Linked DNA regions of Homo sapiens: all the other regions are linked to region 1. Evidence: promoter capture Hi-C in 16 types of primary human blood cells and fetal thymus (Javierre and others, 2016). All regions are on one chromosome and are shown on one strand. The core of a region is centred on a gene start or on the middle of the fragment in contact, and the rest is flanking DNA. Distances in the headings are between cores, read along the strand shown. Region 1 holds the start of NEUROG2 (neurogenin 2). Region 2 overlaps LINC02945 (long intergenic non-protein coding RNA 2945). Region 3 has its middle 6.9 kb from the start of LINC02945. Region 4 overlaps LINC02945 (long intergenic non-protein coding RNA 2945). Region 5 overlaps FAM241A (family with sequence similarity 241 member A). Region 6 overlaps LINC02945 (long intergenic non-protein coding RNA 2945). Region 7 overlaps AP1AR (adaptor related protein complex 1 associated regulatory protein).

What was found. The method cuts DNA at HindIII sites, captures the fragments that hold promoters and counts their contacts. A CHiCAGO score of 5 or more calls a contact.
Region 2: a contact is called between a fragment that was not itself captured here and the fragment with the promoter of NEUROG2 in region 1, in 1 of 17 cell types (activated CD4 T cells). The highest score is 6.9, in activated CD4 T cells.
Region 3: a contact is called between a fragment that was not itself captured here and the fragment with the promoter of NEUROG2 in region 1, in 8 of 17 cell types (neutrophils, monocytes, naive CD8 T cells and 5 more). The highest score is 11.2, in neutrophils.
Region 4: a contact is called between a fragment that was not itself captured here and the fragment with the promoter of NEUROG2 in region 1, in 6 of 17 cell types (fetal thymus, activated CD4 T cells, total CD4 T cells and 3 more). The highest score is 9.2, in fetal thymus.
Region 5: a contact is called between a fragment that was not itself captured here and the fragment with the promoter of NEUROG2 in region 1, in 4 of 17 cell types (neutrophils, fetal thymus, total B cells and 1 more). The highest score is 7.6, in neutrophils.
Region 6: a fragment that was not itself captured here is called in contact with the fragment with the promoter of NEUROG2 in region 1 in 1 of 17 cell types (neutrophils); the score reaches 8.6 in neutrophils.
Region 7: a fragment that was not itself captured here is called in contact with the fragment with the promoter of NEUROG2 in region 1 in 5 of 17 cell types (activated CD4 T cells, total B cells, total CD4 T cells and 2 more); the score reaches 7.2 in activated CD4 T cells.

The regions. Positions count from the first base shown.
Region 1 is chr4:112,514,924-112,517,623 of GRCh38, forward strand. It overlaps NEUROG2 (neurogenin 2), which reads right to left and starts at 1,257. Exons shown (of 2, transcript NM_024019.4): 1 at 924-1,257; 2 at 1-553. The coding sequence starts at 552. NEUROG2-AS1 (NEUROG2 and ZGRF1 antisense RNA 1) reads left to right here and starts at 456. Exons shown (of 4, transcript NR_161159.1): 1 at 456-717. LOC124900760 (a long non-coding RNA gene) reads left to right here and starts at 1,882. Exons shown (of 2, transcript XR_007058231.1): 1 at 1,882-2,116. RefSeq lists silencers at 1-88, 349-418, 1,739-2,018 and enhancers at 2,028-2,700, 2,159-2,258, 2,359-2,478. The HindIII fragment of the contact is 11,776 bases long and covers 1-2,700 here.
Region 2 is chr4:112,053,313-112,056,012 of GRCh38, forward strand. The region is part of intron 1 of LINC02945 (long intergenic non-protein coding RNA 2945); the gene reads right to left. Among named protein-coding and RNA genes, the nearest start is that of LINC02945, 58 kb to the right of the region's middle. The HindIII fragment of the contact is 1,058 bases long and covers 738-1,795 here.
Region 3 is chr4:112,117,853-112,120,552 of GRCh38, forward strand. No RefSeq gene overlaps it. Among named protein-coding and RNA genes, the nearest start is that of LINC02945, 6.9 kb to the left of the region's middle. The HindIII fragment of the contact is 8,296 bases long and covers 1-2,700 here.
Region 4 is chr4:112,090,269-112,092,968 of GRCh38, forward strand. The region is part of intron 1 of LINC02945 (long intergenic non-protein coding RNA 2945); the gene reads right to left. Among named protein-coding and RNA genes, the nearest start is that of LINC02945, 21 kb to the right of the region's middle. The HindIII fragment of the contact is 2,975 bases long and covers 1-2,700 here.
Region 5 is chr4:112,181,351-112,184,101 of GRCh38, forward strand. All of the region lies in intron 1 of FAM241A (family with sequence similarity 241 member A), which reads left to right. Among named protein-coding and RNA genes, the nearest start is that of FAM241A, 37 kb to the left of the region's middle. The HindIII fragment of the contact is 1,987 bases long and covers 286-2,272 here.
Region 6 is chr4:112,026,598-112,029,297 of GRCh38, forward strand. All of the region lies in intron 1 of LINC02945 (long intergenic non-protein coding RNA 2945), which reads right to left. Among named protein-coding and RNA genes, the nearest start is that of LINC02945, 84 kb to the right of the region's middle. The HindIII fragment of the contact is 6,342 bases long and covers 1-2,700 here.
Region 7 is chr4:112,252,524-112,255,223 of GRCh38, forward strand. AP1AR (adaptor related protein complex 1 associated regulatory protein) reads left to right here. Exons shown (of 10, transcript NM_018569.6): 2 at 685-733; 3 at 2,224-2,250. Among named protein-coding and RNA genes, the nearest start is that of AP1AR-DT, 22 kb to the left of the region's middle. The HindIII fragment of the contact is 6,257 bases long and covers 1-2,700 here.

The sequences.
Region 1 (2,700 bases), core at 7-2,506:
CGCCCCCGGCAGGCCCCCGCCGCCGCCCCCGCAGTGATCCGCCAGGCGCAGGGTCTCGGTGAGTGCCCAGATGTAGTTGTGGGCGAAGCGCAGGGTCTCGATCTTGGTGAGCTTGGCGTCCTCGGGGAACGTGGGGAGCACCTCGCGCAGCGCGTCCAGTGCCGCGTTGAGGTTGTGCATGCGGTTTCGCTCGCGGTTGTTGGCCTTCAGTCTACGGGTCTTCTTGATGCGCTGCACCGTCTCGGCCGTCTTGGCGCCTCGGGAGACGGCCCGCGCCCGGGAAGGGCGCCGTTTGCAATCGTGTACCAGACCCAGCAGCCGTGCGGGCCGGCAGCCCTCCGCACCCGCAGCCACGCCGCCCCGCGCCCCCTGCCCGGCCTCAGCCCCGCGCTGCCGACGCGCCCCGCCTGACGCGCCCGGCTCCTCCTCCTCTTCTTCGTCGGCGCTGGATGACAGCGGGGTCAGGGCCGCCAAGGCGGGGGAGGCCGATCCGAGCAGCACTAACACGTCCTCTTCCTCCTTCAACTCCAAGGTCTCGGATTTGACGAACATCCTACCGAAGAGAGAAAGGGGAAAAAGGCAGTGAGGTGTAAGGAAAGAAACAGAGGCGCGATCTTCGTGTCACAGGGGCGTGCTCCGGCGCGCACCCGAGAAGACCAGCTCCGAATGGCGCGGAGCAGGAAGGCGAAGGAAGAAACCCAGGCAGTGCTAACCAAGGTCAGGAGCGCCGCTAGCGCTCGCTGTGACCCTGCTGCCAGTCAGCCGGGTCCTGCCCTCCGCGGGCGGTCCTGCGTTCCCTCCCCGAGAAGGGACTGCGGCCTCCGCGACAAAGATTCTGCGCGGAGCAGAGGGCGTGCGGGTGTGGTTGGACTGAGTGCGGGGAAACCACCTGCGTAGTTGGAAGCGGTGGCTCGAATACTTACTTAGTTGGCTCTAACTGTGCCTCAGCGTTGCTGTGACTTTGGCCTGTGCCGGGAATCTCCGCGCAGCTGCGAGCGCAGCGCCGGGTCCTTCGCCCGGCGTGAAAGCTGCAAGCCCGGCGCTACTGTGGCGCAGCTCCGCGGGGGACCTCTGCGACCGGCGAGTTTGCCAAGAGCCCCGGCGGCGGCGGCGGCGGCCCGCCCGGGTCTCGTGTGTTGTGGTGGTGGTGCGTGTCTGTCTGTCAGTCAGTCCCTGGCCGTGCGGCTCCTGGCACGCGACTCCCAGGCACTCCAGTTAACGCGAAGCTGCTTGTGGTTCAGTGGCTGCGTGTCTGGCACACGACTCTCCTTAAAACCCCTTATATACCACCAAGAAAACAATCAGATCTGCCCCGGGCCCCCTCCTCCCCCGCCACCGCCTCCTCCTCCTGTCAGTCCTGCCCCCCTTCTCCCCCGCTTTTCCCTCCTCTGGCTTATTCTTTTCATTGCATTATCATCATTCATTTCTTCCTCTTTCTTCACCGCCTTTCCCCCTCCCTTGGCCCTGCCATCCATCCTCCTCCTCCCACCACCCCCGCCTCTCTTTTCCCCCTTTATCTAATCAACATAAAATGGTTCTAAAGCTCCTGTTGGAGCTCCGGGCTGCGGCCGGAGCTGGCGAAGCCGCAGCGGCCGCAGAGGCTCAAGCTGCGGCTGTTGTCGCCGCCGCTGTCCATTGTGATTGGTGGCTCGCGCTCGGCTGGAGCGTGCCGCTAATTTATTAATGAATGGAGGTCGCGAGGCGCAGCTGGCCAATCAGGGCGCCCTGGACTCCGGGAGGCCTGCGAGCCACGCGCACCGGAGCCCGCTCCCTTTCAGCAGCTCATTAGGGGCCCGAGCGCTGGGGGCGGATGGGGGGACCCGTGCTACCGCCCCCGCCTTCGTCCTCGCTGCCGCCGAGGCTCCCCCCGCCCGGCGCGCGCGCAGGCACCGCACCCGGCGCTGCCGGCCCTCCTAACTCCCGGGTGATGGGAACTAGGAATTAGTTAATGGGGGTCAGAATCCCGGGGAAAGCAGTTAGCCCTGTGGTGCTGCCGGGCGTCTCTTGGCAAAGCCTCTTAGGGGTTGTATCAAATAGTAAACGATTTTAAAATGGATTCATTTGGTTAGGGGAGGAGAATGGCGTGGATGGAGAGATGTGGACACCTCGTGAACAAGTGTGTTTGGGGTCCGTCGAAACTGGCGTGGGAGAGTGAAGGGAGAGGACACTGGGGATTCAAACAGGCGTCTCTTGGGAGGGGAGGTCGGATAGGGGAGCAGTTGATGAGCTTTTAGAGGATGTGAGAATGAAATCACTCACATGTTAGAGCTGAAAGGATCCCCCTCATTTTACATACAGGAAACTGAGGCTCCGGGCACTGATGCAGGTTTTGCTGGGGTTAACCCAGTTTATAGCCTGGAGGGACAGCAAGGAGGCTTCCTGCGTGGGTGGCAGCGAACCGAGCGGGAGGAGCGGCAGAGCTGCTGCTCCTGCAAGCAAATGCGCTGCGCTGACATTTCTGTGACCTCTGCTCCGCGCTGGGGGGCGTTGTAGGGACAAGGGGCCCATCTTCCCAATTCTGCTTTTCAATGAGAAAAAAGAGCTGAAGGGCTACTGGACCTCGGGGGAAACTTGTTCTCAATTGCTCGTTAGCCCTCCCCACTTTCCCCACGTTCATGCCCACCCTCTTGTCGACATGGGGATGGATCCGGACTTCAGTAGACCGGAGTGGCGTCCCTTGAGATCCCCTTTGCAAATTAA
Region 2 (2,700 bases), core at 17-2,516, 460 kb before region 1:
TTCCAAAGTGGCTGTACATTTTACGTTCCCACTAGTAATGTACAAATGATCCAGTTTCTCCACATTCTGGCCAGCATTTGGTGAATCCTTGTATTTTTTAGTGTCAGCAACTTGTTAGTGCAGAAATATTCAGACAAGGTATTTGTGTAAGTAATTGCATTTCCTTATGAAGTGATATGTTCAATTATATATAAGTAAAAGATGGACAGTTACAAAAAATTAACAATAAAAATTGAAAGAAATAAAATCGAACCAATATAAATTAGATGACAACTACATATCCTGTATTTACTTCTAATACAATTTTTATGAGTCAATGACTTATCTCTCATTGAAAACAAAATACTCTTGACAAGCTCATCTTCAACCACATCTTAAATTTACAGCTTTATCAACATCTTTTTTGGTCAAAAGAAATCAACCTATCAGCATAAATATATGGTCAAAAACAGGGTGCTATCACATGCATTCACTTTATTTTCTTTTCTCTTCTTTCATTTTCATTTTCTTTCTTTTCTTGCATATTTACTTGCTCTCTGCTTCAGATTATTCATCAAAGCCAGTTGTAACCCTTCAAACACAATTGTCCGCGGAAGTGTTGCTAATCATTTGAAAAAGCTCAGGAAAAAAAAAATGTTGTAATTCACCTAGACTCAACTCACTACCTTAAGAAATCCATGGGATTATATGCCTATTCAGTTATTGAGGGAGTTAAATCCAGGCTTAGGTATAATAAAAGCTTGCTAAAATGCCTTTTGTCCTCTTACTGGAATACACATTCTTACATGCAAAACTGAGGAGCAGGAAGCAATTGCAGGAAGAGGAAAGATAGCAATACAAAGTGAGAATAACCAGAACTTGTTCTCTTGTGTTTTGAGTTAGCCTTTGCTTTCCATACCTTGAGAAGCATCAAATTAAAAGAATGTGACTCAAGACCACAAAAAAAGTAACCTCATAGATTTACAGGCCTGCACAGAAGTTCATGTAGTTGCACAGCTCCAAGCAGAAGGTTTATGTTCATTTAAGAGTGGAAAATTTTCAAGTTCTTCCAGAAGCACCATCTGTTTCTACTGGCTCGTCATGGTTTGAATTATTTATTACAATAACCTCAGATTTATTGGGTTAACCTTTGGATTGACTCCTAAAATTAACTATTGAATATTTATTATTTTTTCAGTAGGATAGTAGAATACAAAAATTAATTTTACCCTAGTATTGAAAGCACCTTAAGGTCTTTATCATAACCAAAATGACAGAAGGAATTATATTGTTTATCGCGTCTAATAGGTTTGATCCCTACAGCTATGTAATTGGTCCACTAGATGATGCTATGGTGGTTAAAATTTTTAAAAGATGATCTGTGCAAATTTCAAACAACTACAAAAATGTTTTTAAAATTTTTTAAACATAGTTTTAAAAATAGTTAACATAGGATACCTGCCTTATCAATCTGTTAATGAGAAATGGAAAAAACACAGAGTTCCTAAAACTAAAGCCAGGACTTAAAAGCTGACAAACAGCTTTCTATGAATCTTCATGATCTGGTAAGTCTCAATATCTTAAGAAAAATATAAGTGACTTTTTAGAAGCAAAGTTAATGATAAACTGCATGCTATGAAAGAATTAAATACAGAAACATTGGGGAAAAAGCATTTCCAAAGAAGGCAGAGATATAAAGTTAAATTAATTTTAGTGAGAGGTTTTTTTTTTAATGGGGGAGGAAGAAAACACAATTTTTTTTGCATATTTAAGAATTCCGTTTAAACCTTGTTTGATTTTTTAGACTGGCACAAAAAGCTTCCAGTTAAAAATAGACAAATTTAGAAAAATCAGTTAAGGACCTAATTACCACACCAAATTGAGTAGTCAATTTCCACCTTCTTGAACTAAGCAGCAATTCTTGCTACCTTCAGGCCATTAACACCACTAAACCAATTCCACTGCATTTTCTCAAGCTTTGGCTTCAGGGCAGCTCCTAATTGGCTGATGGCATTAGAGAGCATTGGGTGCTACAGGGCTACAGTTCCTTCTAAAGGAAGGTATCAGTTCTTCATTCTTTATTTCTTGTGCTTTTGTCAAGGCTTTTTTTGTTTTGTTTTGTTTTGGTTTGGTTTAAGCTTTTCACCCACTCATACTTAATAATAAGTTTTTGCTATTTAGGACCAGCAAAAACTAAGGAGCAATTATTCTCCATTTTTCTTTGTTTTAAAGTGTCACTTTAGTGAATATTAGCCATTTGAAAAAAGTGTAGATAAATATTTAAGTTTGCTAGTACAAAGTTACTCATAAAAAAAATAGAAAGGAGTCCTAGCAGCTTCTGAAAACACAGAATGCAACCTGGAAGAGATGGCCAAGTCCCACAAAATCAATTTTTTTCTTAATGGGAAACATTTCAAAGTATGAGTGATATGTAACTTATCTAAGTGTTTTGAATCTTTGAATCTTAATCATTTGAATTTTTATGAAGTAGAGTCCTTAAAGGAAAGCATACCATACTTAACTCCTAAAAGACCTCTTTCTGATTAAACTATAGTATCAATTATAGCTCTTTATATCAACTATTATGACATTGCCATCTTGAAATTCTGTATTACTGAAAAAAATTTTCAGAATTCATTTCTTTCTTTTTTTTTTTTTTTTTTTGAGACAGGGTCATGCTCTGTCACCCAGGCTAGAGTGCACTGGCATGATCTCAGCTCA
Region 3 (2,700 bases), core at 159-2,658, 400 kb before region 1:
AGGAATTCCAGATCAGCCTGGCTAACATGGTGAAACCTCATCTCTACTAAAAAATACAAAAATTAGCCAGGTGTGGTGGCACATGCCTGTAGTCCCAGCTACTCCAGAGGCTGAGGCAGGAGAATCGCTTGAACCCAGGAGGCAGAGGTTGCTGTGAGCTGAGATTGTGCCACTGCACTCCAGCCTGGGCAACAGAGTAAGACTCTGTTCCAAAAAAAAAGTCTATACGTATCTTTTGCCTCTCTCTCTATATATATACATACATATATATATACACACACATATATATACACATACACACACACACACACACACACATATATATTTGTTTCATTTTGTTTTGTTTTTTGTTTTTTTTTTTAAGAGACATGAGGTCTTGCTCTGTTACCCAGGCTGATCTCAAACTCCTGGGCCCCAGCAATTCTCCCACCTTAGCCTCCCAAAGTGCTGGGATTACAGGCATGAGCTACCACACCCAGCTCTTTTCCCTATTTTTTAGTTGGATAGTTTATCTTCTAGTTATTGAGTTATAAATATCCCTTATGTAGTCTGGATGCAAATAGTTTACCAGATATAGTACTTGCAAATATGTTCTTCCAATTTGTGGCTTGTCTTTTTATTTTTTTAAGACTCTCAGGTTTTGAAATCAGAAAAAAATATAATGGGCTCAATATTATGTGAAAAATTATACTTAATCTCCTAATAATTTTATTCTTTTAAATCTTTAAACACAATACAGACAGAATTTGGAAACTGGAATTACAATTTACTTCCTAGAGGATGAATTATAACACAGGAAAAGCCTTTTATTATAATATATTTTGACATGAGATTAGTGGTTTACAGCTAACTGGCTGAGGAAGAAGAGTCCTGATTTGTAGCATTTTCAATTTCCATGGTATAAATACTCCCCCAGGGACAATTTTAAGGCACTAATGGTTTAACAACCAACTCAAAAAGTTTCTGAACATTTAGCTCTTGACCCTAGAGAGCCAGAAAGAACCAGCTCTAGCATACTACTAAAAATCCATGATTGAAGTGGTAGTAAAAGTCTTAAAGATAAACAAAAGAAGAAGGAAGGGAAGGGATGGGGGAAGGGGGAAGGGAAAAGGAAAGGGAAGGGAAGGGAAGAGGAAAGGGAAGGGAAGGGAGAAGGAAACAGGAGAGGAGGGGAGGGGACGGGAGAGGAGAGGGGAGGGAAGAGGGGAGGAGAGGGGAGAGGAGAGGGGAGAGGGGAGGGGAGGGTAGAGGAGAGGAGGGGAGGAGAGGGGAGGAGAGGGGAGGGGAGAGAAGAGAGGGGAGGGGAGGGGAGGGGAGAGGAGAGGAGAGGAGAGGAGGAAAGAGAGAAGAGAGAAGAGAGAAAAGAAGAGGACACCTGCTTTGGAGGAATTTGCAGATTACCAAGAAAGATATCACTGATCCTTTACATGAAAATGAAAGGAAAATTAGTTTTTAAAAAACCAAGTCAACAGATTATAAAAACACATAAATAAGAAGCTCTACAAAGAATGAAAATGAAAATAAAATCATTCTCTGGAGCAGAAAATGGAAACTATTTTATAACTGTGGTATCACTATCACTAATCCAGGAAACCCACTGAAGGGACTGTGGTGACTATAAGGAGTTCGTTCCATGTTGTTTGTGTGGTGCTGACCGTTCCCATTCACCTCCGGCAGCTAACACACAAGTCTGGCCTATCCCCCTTAAACCTAATATTGGTTCAAGAAAGAGCACATGGACCAATCCCTCCAAAGCCCTCCCTGGAGCTTTTTCTGGAAGAAACAAGAGATCAGTAGGCATTAAGATTATGTAGGCCTGGAGTTGCAGTCTACTCAAGTGATGACTCACTCTTCCCCCACTATTTAGCAGCCATGGGTTTTGGGAGGTGTATTAGTCCATTTTTATGCTGCTGATAAAGACATACCTGAGACTGGGCAATTTACAAAAAAGACATGTAATGGACATACAGTTCCACATGGCTGGGGAAGCCTCACAATCATAGCAGAAGGCAAGGAGGAGCAAGTCACGTCTTACATGGATGGCGGCAGGCAAAAAAGAGAGCTTGTGTAAGGAAACTCCCATTTTTAAAACCATCAGACCTTGTGAGACTCATTCACTACCATGAGAACAGTGCAGGAAAGACCTGCCCCCATAATTCAATCACCTCCCACCGGGTTCCTCCTGTGACATGTGGGAATTGTGGGAGTTGCAATTCAAGATGAGATTTGGGTGGGGACACAGCCAAACATATCATAAGGCATTAAAAAACAATTATACTATCTCCTTCTACAGTGCAAGTCACTCCCCCTAGCTACAGTGATTGGTCCAGAAGTAAGCTAATCAAGGCAAACCACAAGCCTTTCAATCAACCCTTCAGGAACTACATGTTCTCTTCCCCAGGAAATGACCCCCTGGCCTAGCCTGAGGATAAACATAACACATGGGGGATGGCAAGGCCCACAGAATCCCAGAGAAAGATTGATGAGGCCACTCTTGAAGATGGTTCTACATCTTCACTATTTAATTCGCAAACAAATAAATCTCTTTTGTTTAGCCAGTTTAAATTCCATTTTATACTGCAACAAAAGCATTCTATTGGGTTCAATAATCTTTCTACCCTTGTTTTTTTGGTTGTTGTTAACTCTTCTGTCATTTGACAGTGTCAAAACTTTGTAATTTTGTGCTCTTGGCCTTCAACT
Region 4 (2,700 bases), core at 92-2,591, 420 kb before region 1:
TGACAAAATTCAACAACGCTTCATGCTAAAAACTCTCAATAAATCAGGTATTGATGGGACGTATCTCAAAATAATAAGAGCTATCTATGACAAACCCACAGCCAATATCATACTGAATGGGCAAAAACTGGAAGCATTCCCTTTGAAAACTGGCACAAGACAGGGATGCCCTCTCTCACCACTCCTATTCAACATAGTGTTGGAAGTTCTGGCCAGGGCAATTAGGCAGGAGAAGGAAATAAAGGGTATTCAATTAGGAAAAGAGGAAGTCAAATTGTCCCTGTTTGCAGAAGACATGATTGTATATCTAGAAAACCCCATTGTCTCAGCCCAAAATCTCCTTAAGCTGATAAGCAACTTCAGCAAAGTCTCAGGATACAAAATCAATGCACAAAAATCACAAGCATTCTTATACACCAATAACAGACAAACAGAGAGCCAAATCATGAGTGAAATCCCATTCACAATTGCTTCAAAGAGAATAAAATACCTAGGAATCCAACTTACAAGGGATGTGAAGGACCTCTTCAAGGAGAACTACAAACCACTGCTCAAGGAAATAAAAGAGGATACAAACAAATGGAAGAACATTCCATGCTCATGGGTAGGAAGAATCAATATCGTGAAAATGGCCATACTGTCCAAGGTAATTTACAGATTCAATGCCATCCCCATAAAGCTACCAACGACTTTCTTCACAGAATTGGAAAAAACTACTTTAAAGTTCATATGGAACCAAAAAAGAGCCCGCATCACCAAGGCAATCCTAAGCCAAAAGAACAAAGCTGGAGGCATCACACTACCTGACTTCAAACTATACTACAAGGCTACAGTAACCAAAACAGCATGGTACTGGTACCAAAACAGAGATATAGATCAATGGAACAGAACAGAGCCCTCAGAAATAACGCCGCATATCTACAACTATCTGATCTTTGACAAACCTGAGAAAAACAAGCAATGGGGAAAGGATTCCCTATTGAATAAATGGTGCTGGGAAAACTGGCTAGCCTTATGGAGAAAGCTGAAACTGGATCCCTTCCTTACACCTTATACAAAAATCAATTCAAGATGGATTAAAGACTTAAACGTTAGACCTAAAACCATAAAAACCCTAGAAGAAAACCTAGGCATTACCATTCAGGACATAGGCATGGGCAAGGACTTCACGTCCAAAACACCAAAAGCAATGGCAACAAAAGCCAAAATTGACAAATGGGATCTAATTAAACTAAAGAGCTTCTGCACAGCAAAAGAAACTACCATCAGAGTGAACAGGCAACCTACAAAATGGGAGAAAATTTTCGCAACCTACTCATCTGACAAAGGGCTAATATCCAGAATCTACAATGAACACAAACAAATTTACAAGAAAAAAACAAACAACCCCATCAAAAAGTGGGCGAAGGACATGAGCAGACACTTCTCAAAAGAAGACATTTATGCAGCCAAAAAAACACATGAAAAAATGCTCATCATCACTGGCCATCAGAGAAATGCAAATCAAAACCACAATGAGATACCATCTCACACCAGTTACAATGGCGATGATTTAAAAGTCAGGAAACAACAGGTGCTGGAGAGGATGTGGAGAAATAGGAACACTTTTACACTGTTGGTGGGACTGTAAACTAGTTCAACCATTGTGGAAGTCAGTGTGGCGATTCCTCAGGGATCTAGAACTAGAAATACCATTTGACCCAGCCATCCCATTACTGGGTATATACCCAAAGGACTATAAATCATGCTGCTATAAAGACACATGCACACGTATGTTTATTGCGGCATTATTCACAATAGCAAAGACTTGGAACCAACCCAAATGTCCAACAATGATAGACTGGATTAAGAAAATGTGGCACATATACACCATGGAATACTATGCAGCCATAAAAAATGATGAGTTCATGTCCTTTGTAGGGACATGGATGAAATTGGAAATCATCATTCTCAGTAAACTATCTCAAGAACAAAAAACCAAACACAGCATATTCTCACTCATAGGTGGGAATTGAACAATGAGATCACATGGACACAGGAAGGGGAATATCACACTCTGGGGACTGTGGTGGGGTGGGGGGAGGGGGGAGGGATAGCATTAGGAGATATACCTAATGCTAGATGACGAGTTAGTGGGTGCAGCACACCAGCATGGCACATGTATACATATGTAACTAACCTGCACAATATGCACATGTACCCTAAAACTTAAAGTATATTAAAAAAATAAAAAAATTAAAATAAAAATAAAAAAATAAAAAAATAAAATAAAATAAAATTGCCCTTTTAAATCGTTAAATCAAGTTATGCTTCTACTGGTATGAGATAGTAGCCAACACTAGGTCCTCTTAGGAGCTGTGAGTAGTAATTGGCATTTATTCAACATTACCTCTGATGAGGTAGACTCCTGCATTACCTTCCTCTTTCATTATGGTCATCCTTCAGGGAAAGCAGTGCTGAGATAATAGCTTGTCCCTTCCTGAATGTTGATCCCAGAGCTCTCTTCCTGATACTCTGCATCTTTGGACTGCCTTCATGTTCTTGCATAAATGCATGTGGGCATATAGGATACCAAGTCATTGCTATCTAGAACCTGTGGTCTAAGTAGTAGTAGTTTAGTACAAATTTTACCAGAAAATCTGATGCTAGTTCCAGGTTGCACAGCTTTCTAAAAGCATATAGGCATGTGTGTTAGTCCAT
Region 5 (2,751 bases), core at 29-2,528, 330 kb before region 1:
AAATCTATCAAATACTTCTCTAATGCCTGCCAGAAAAATACATGATAATTTCTTCCTGTTTATTCAACAAATATTTATTGAGATGTTTCTATATGCTGCTATTTTCAGGACATAGCGTTTGCTACATATTCATATCAGAGGATATCAGTGGCCAGCAAAAATAAATACTGTTCCTAGTTCATGAAGTTTATAGTACAGGTAGACATTAATCAAATAATGACACACATTGGCATTGAGTCAGAATGCATTGAAAGAGCATTACCTGATGCTGTGAGACTGAGTTGAAGCTTAAGCTAAGACCAAAAGGAGAGGATGCCTTAACTAAGCAAAGGAGAGAGGAAATAGTTTTTTGAGCAGAGAAAAGAGCACGTGCAAATCCCTGTGGCGAGCAAGAGCTGAAAGACCTCTGTGGCTGAAATAAAGACAGGAAGGCTGATGACAGAATGAGGCCAGAGACCCAGATAGAAGCCAGACTAAGCAGGGCCTCATAGATCATGTTAAAGATTTTGGCCTTAATCCTAAAAGCAGGATGGAGGTGGCATGATTGAATTTGCACTTGGAAAGAACCACTGTGGCTACATTGTGGTATATAGATTATAGGGGAGCTAATGGACTTGTGCAGTAGCAGTGTTAGGAAACTATTGGAATAGTCAAGAGATCTTAGTAGACTCTTAGGATTATAGCAGTAGATGGAATAGTATATACACTTTAAAGAAATACTTAGAAGGTAAAACAAAGAGAATATGGTGATGAGCTGGATGTGGGTCATGGGGAAGAGGGAGAGGGAGGGGGTCAAGAATGCCTTAGAGTTCTGACCTTTGGATGTGGCATATGGATGGTGGTACCATTCACTGACCTAGGGAGCATCAAGAGAGCCCTCGTCCTCACAAATCAGCCAGATGGTTTAAATTTTATTGTAAACAAGAACTTCTAAAAATAATTGAATCGGATGACCTTTTGATAGCTGCATGAGACAATCCAGAAAAAGCAATATGTTGTTACTTGTAGTAGTTTTGTGACACCACATGCATTTCATTGTATCTCATAACTCAAGTCATAATATAGTCCTTTCTTAATACAATTTACCCACTTGCAATATATTTGTAATAAGTTAATTCTACTTAATTATCTCAGCTTGTCAATGTTGTAAACTTAAAAAAAAAAAAATAGAAATGCACCAGTTGGTGGAAAGAAGGGAGGGATCAAACTCATCGACTATAACCGTGCAGGCCTTTACCTCAACTTATTTCAAGTATCTCTTATTCCTACAGTGAAGTGCTGGTGCTGGCTCCTACCAATCGTCAAAGAGCAAGTTGTTAAATTTTCAGGAACTTTTTGAGCTGGCTGTTAATAGTTTGAAATTGGCCACAGTGGAAGTACTAACACTACAGAAATTGGAAATCACAACAGAATTGGCAAACGCTGTAAAATAGAGCTTCCCCCAACCCCCAACAAAGCCCATTGTTAAACATTTACCAACACACCAGTCTTTGTATCCTTTAGAACTGTGTTATTTGAGAGGATATCCTAGATACATAAAATACTGTAATGAGATTGACTATAATCTCACTGATTGAAGAATATTGATCATTTTCCTTTTCCACGTTCTTTTTTTTTTTTTCTTTTGCCTGCCTGGAAACTGACACCCTTTCCACATTCTTAAATGTCTTCCTTTAGGGTTGTTTGAACCCCCTATCCAATTCATTGCTGGATATATTTGATGTTTCTACAGAACTTCATTTGTGAAGATATGTTACTTTTAGGCATTAGCCTAGTGATTTTTTTTTAAACTTTTTTCTTCTTCATCAGATTACCCAGATTAAGAAGTATTTCAGTAAGGTGGCAAAGTTTTAGAAATTACTGAATCTGGTTGATACGTATATAGGTTTATTATACTATTTTCTCTAGTTTTGTGTGTGCTTAAATTTTTTTATAATTAAAAAAAAAGAAGAAGAAGCAGGCTGCAACAGCCACAGCTTGCCCAGACCTGTCCTTACTGGGTCTTCAGCTTCCAGTCTCAATCCCACCAGCTGATCTCAAGATCTGAGATAATGTGAGCATTGCTGTCTCCTCGCCTGGCCTGATTTACTAACTCTCTGTTTTGATTTAAGTGTTGCAACACCTCCTTCTTCCCCTGAAAAACCCACAAGCATTTGTAGATTTAATTTATTTTACAAAGAATTTAAACCTTCAGACAGTACCTACCACATCCAGATTAGGGTACTTTCTTCGTACTAAAACCACAAAAATACTGAAAAAAAAAGTCTTAAAAAGCTTCAGTAACAACAAAAAAAACCCCAAAGTACAATGAGTGCATAGATTACAAGAAATTGGGAAGAGTAAAAAAAAAAATTTTTTTAAGAACTTTAATAAAAAATGAAGAAAAAAAGGCCAGAAACAGTATCAACATGCTGAACACTGGAGAAATAGAGAGGGATGAGGGATCAGCAGAATTACATACTAAATCGAGGACTCTTCAAGTTCTACCCTAAAGAAAAGAAAGCTTTAATATTAGGCAAGAATAAGGGTTTTTTTAAAATGTAGTATATTGTTATGGATCATATCAAAGTACAAGAAACATAAAATTGACCCAGTCATAATATATCAGTGAAGGAAAAAATAATTTAGAAATCAATTTTTTAAAAAAAGAAAAGATCCACAAATTATAACTTAAGAGAAAACTATCAGTATCAAAAAAGGATCACATAAATCATTTTATGGATTAGAAAACTGAAGTTCAGGAAAAGTGAA
Region 6 (2,700 bases), core at 28-2,527, 490 kb before region 1:
ACAGAAGTGTGAACTTTGTTGTTTTATTTAGGAAATTTTAGATAGTTCTAAAAGGCCAAGATGAGATTGGCTAGGTAAGAAGAAATCAGATAATAAATAGCCTTAAATGGCCAGCAAGGCATTTGGCCATTGTTCTACAGGTAAATGGAAAATGCTGATGAAATTTAAGTAGGGAAGTGACATAATCATGTTTATAGAGTTAAAAGATTACTCTTGAGACAATGCAGAGGATAGACAAGACTGAAGACTGGGAGAAGATTTAGAAGGCAGCTGAGATTGTACAAAAACAAGATTACAAGGGTATTAAGGCAATACACATAAGAAATAAGAGCTTTAGGTAACAGATTCTGAAGGACTTTGTAATTAACTGACAGCAGAAGTGAAGAGGCAGGAAGATTATTGGATGCTTGGACTGATACACTTTAAAATAGAGAATTCAAGATGAGATCATGGATGTGTTGAATTTGAAGGTACTATGGATACTAAGAAACACTCAAATGAAAAATGACCAATAATCATACAAAAATAAGGACCGTGAATTCAGGAGGGAGGTCTAAAATGGAAATGTGTGTTTGGGAGTCATCAGTGTGATGTGGCAGTGGAAACATTTGATATCAATGAAGATACATTGCTTGAGAAGAGAAGAACTTGAGCAAGAACAATATTGCTTAGTGTGCAATGCCAAGCGGTATTATGGAACCCATAAGCATTTCTGAATGTCAGATTTGAGGATTGTGATCCAAACAGGCAGTTATTGTGGTCAGATACATCAGAAGTGACTATAATCAAGAGATGACAGTGAATCGGTAAGGAAAAGAGACCCTCTTGCTATCTGTCAAAGGAGGAGGGAGAGAACTTTAAAATATAATGAATATAATAGTGTGAGTTAGAAGATCTAGGTGTAAATCTCAATTTGTTCCTCACTGGCAATTTGACCTTGGGCACAGAGGAAACGGATCTTAAAAGAAAAAGAAGAATCATATGCAGAAAGAAACAATAACAAGAAATTGAAAGAAAACACTGCCTGTATTTCCAACTTGTTCTCAATTTCTGATCTTTCTTAGAATTTCTTCATTCTTTTGTTTGATTTTAATTAAATATCATTCTAATTTATAATAGAGTTCTTTTTTCCTACTAGTCCAGAGTGAATTGACTTGTTTCTTGCAGCAATATCCTAATATATGGATGCAACATCTTTTTAGAAAGAGAAATTTTCTTTTCTCCTGCATGAATGTGTGGTTTGTCTTAGTCCAAGTCTGCTCTTTTGGATTCATGGCAAGAGAAAAAGAAATGTGAAGAGGAAAAGAGATGGAAAAATGAACCCCTACTGGTAGCAGAAATGGTTAATTACTGTATTAGTCTGTTTTCACTCTGCTGATAGAGACTGGGTAATTTATTAAAAAAATAAAAATAAAAGAGGTTTAATGGACTCACAGTTCCACCTGGCTGGGGAAGCCTCACAATCATGGTAGAAGGCAAAAGACACATCTTACATGGTGGCAAACAAGAGAAAGAATGAGAACCAAGCGAAAGGGGTTTCCTCTTATAAAACCATCAGATCTCTTGAGACTTGTTCACTAGAACAGTATAGGGGAAACCACCCCCATGATTCAATTATTTCCCACCGGGTCCCCTCCACAACATGTGGGAATTATGGGAGCTACAATTCAAGATGAGATTTGGGTGCAGACACAGACAAACAATATCAGTTACCATCCCCATATCTATTACTCCTTTTTTCTCAATGGGAAAACCCACAATTTTAATTGCTAATTGGTTGAAAGCACTTGTCAGTCTCCCTTGCAGCTAGGCATGACATGTGTCTAAGTTCTGGCTGATAAGATAAAGTCAAAGGTGACATGGGGCATCCTAGAAGACTGTTGAAAGAACACTAACTCACATTTGAAAAACAAAACAGAACACCTGTTTGTCGTTTCTCCCTTCCTCCTACCTGCATTCCAGAATGCTGATGGGAGGGTAGAATTTCCAACAGCCATTTTGGACCAAGAGGTAACCTTGAGAATGAAAGCCATTCATAGAATGGCGAAATACAATAGCAGAAGGAGCCCAGGTCTCTGTTGACCATAGAGTCCCCATAAAAGTCCTAGACTCTCTTATCTGTGTTTCTCTCACAGATAACAAGACAGAAGAGAAATAAACTTCTATCTCATTTAAGGTATTTGGGGTTTGCTCTATATGCAGCTAGTAGAAAAATTATATTGCAGCAGATACTAGAGAAAATTGATATGCCTTTGTATAATCTATACAACTCTCATTCCTAATATTTCTATTGTATTTATCAGTTCTAAAACTGAAAAATTATTTAAGAATTCATCTTCCTTATATTTATTTTCAGAAATCAGAATGATGTGGCAGAAAAAAAATCAGCCTGAAAATTAAGAAAACTATATTTTGATTCTAAATAGTTATATTACTTTATTAAGTAATAACACTTCAAGTGCTTTTTCATCTTTAACATAAGAGATTTGAACCAGATAAACTCTAAGGTCTTTTCAGTTGCAAAACTCTTCTGTTTCTATATTTCTTGCTTTCTTCATGGGATTATTGAAAAGACCCAAATGTATAATTTTTATTTAGCAAATAGCACTGTGCCATGCTCTTTGCAAATATTAATTTAATCATCATAGCTGACCAAGGAGGTAGGTACCACCCATTTTAAAGATAAGCAAACTGAGAAAT
Region 7 (2,700 bases), core at 141-2,640, 260 kb before region 1:
TAGACATATCTTTGGAGGATATAATAAAGAAGATTCCTATTTGACTACATATAAGTTTAATAGGAGCAGGAAAGAATGATTAAAATAAAGTCAATATTTGGCCCTAGTTGGAAAAAATAATGTAATGGATTGTTTGATTGACATGTATATGCATTGTTTTTCTCTTTTATTTGTGAGGGCATGGGAAGATAACAAAAGTCTTGAATAAAGACACGTGATTCCACCACCAAAGATAACTACTCTTAGCATATTGACATATATACTTTTAGATACTTAATGTTCTGTGTATTTTTAACAAAATTGAGAACATATTCTTTTTATATATTATTTAACACATCAGTATTTTTTAACGAGGTACTTTTCTTGATGTAGTAAAAATAATGAGATACATTTTAAAATGTATTCTACTCAATGTAGTAAATATAGTAAATTAATTATTACAGATTTAGTAAGTGTTAGTGCCAATAGAAAGAAATATTGATTGACTAAACAAAGTCATAATGAAGTTTAAAAATCTGGACTTTTTATAGTCTTAGGTAAATTTTGTTGTTCTTTTTTTATAAATATAACTATATGTTAGAGATTTTAAAGTTGCTCTTGAGGAAATAAATGTTTTTATGCTATATATTAATTCAATCTTAGAGTTAATTGTGTTTTTTAAAGTTATTCTGTTTTCCTTCCCAGATCCAAGTATTTTAGAACATGCTCAAGAGGTGAGCACTTAACAATAGAGGTAAGTAGTCCTTAATTTGATTGAATTAAAAATGCCTTCAGAAAGGCGGAAGGGGCTTTTTGTTGTAAAGAGGGAAAGATCTGGACCCAAATTTAGAATGGACTGTTTATATTTCAATATTATTCATGTTAGTGAAGATTGAAAGAGTTGGAGCAGTGAGGGAAGGAATGAGTAGGAAGAAGTTTGCAGAGGATTATGGTTCTGTTTTTCTAATAGCTTTTTCCCCCACCCTATAAGTCAGGGAGAAGGTACTCTTCTGTCAGTAATAGTGGCTCACTAGGGTATAACGAGAGGTGGTTGGCCTGCCCCAGCAGGGGGGAGTCCAGAAACAAAGCAGGAAGTTGAGTTTAAGCAACTCCACAGCAGAATGACCGAGTCACTTTTTCTTTGAATGTAAAATATAATAATAGAAACTACCATTTATTCCTTACCTACTATAAACTAGCCACTCCACCATACAAATTAAGAATGTCATCACAACTCTCTTGTAAACAGGTGGTGGTCACCCTGTTTCATGGATGAAAAATCAGAGGCTTAGACAGGTGGAGAAATTGGGCTATATTACACAACCTATTAAGTGGCAAAACCTAAATTCTAGTCCAAACTGCCTGGCTTCAAAGCTGGAACACTGTACTTTATGGCCTTCTATATTAATAAGGAAATGTGTAAGGCAGGAATTAGATATTTAAAAATCACAAACTAATATAAAAAAAGATAAAGATAATAACTTTAACAGTTTTATTCTTTTTTCAGAGAGATTCCTTAATTTTCTAAACCTTTTGAATTCATTGTTTTCTCTCAATCTTTAAGCCAAACAGTATTAACAATAAAACACCTTTTATTTCAGGTGGTTACTTATCAAGTTATTTATATTTAAAATAAAAACACTTTAGTGATATAATAGTAATGACTTTTATTAGGTCACTGACATAATAGTGTTAAGCACATTATGATCAAACTGTTTACATTCCTATCTCTAGAAAGACATTGTATTTGGGGATAGTAACTACCACTTAGTAGATTTTCAGTAAATAACTATATGAATGAATAGACGGATAAATATAAACGTGGGGAAATTCTTATTTGGTATCTTTTAGTCCCCATTCCTTGAATAATTTTCCTTCTTACAACATTTGTTCTGTAGTCAAGTGAAGTGGAATATTCTGGTAGCATGGAATGAAATTACTTGTATGAAATATTCAATTCAGATGAAAGTTTTAGTTCTGATTTATGTAGAAAATTGCTATAATTCTCCTGTTTGATTTTCATTCATAGAAAGTCATAAATTAAAATAGTATATGCTTGTCTTGGCCATTTTGTAGGACTGTTAAATATATCAAATGAAATGATGTATTAAAGAGGCATTTGAATTAAATAGCTTACAAATATAAAGGTATATTATTTTTAAGTGAAAAAAGTAACATAATTTCTTGTGAGATGTATACCTAAGACAAATATTCCTCTTAACGCTTACTTTTTTGTCCTTTCAGTTTGAGAATCTAGTAGAAAGTGATGAAGTAAGTATTTCCATAATAGTACAAAACTTGTATTTGTTTTTCTCATTAATCGTCTCATTAGTTCTAACAATTACGTTTACAATTTTTATTATTTTTGTTTTAGAATTTTTATTTTCTGGTTTTTATTTTTACTTTTTAGTTCTTTATTATTTCCTTCTTTTACTAATTTATATTAGAAAATAATTCCGAATTTTTTTTTTTTCTTGAGACGGAGTCTCGCTCTGTCTCCCAGGCTGGAGTGCAGTGGCGGGATCTCGGCTCACTGCAAGCTCCGCCTCCCGGGTCACGCCATTCTCCTGCCTCAGCCTCCCAAGTAGCTGGGACTACAGGCGCCCGCCACTACGCCCGGCTAATTTTTTGTATTTTTAGTAGAGACGGGGTTTCACCATGTTAGCCAGGATGGTCTCGATCTCCTGACCTCGTGATCCGCCAGCCTCGGCCTCCCAAAGT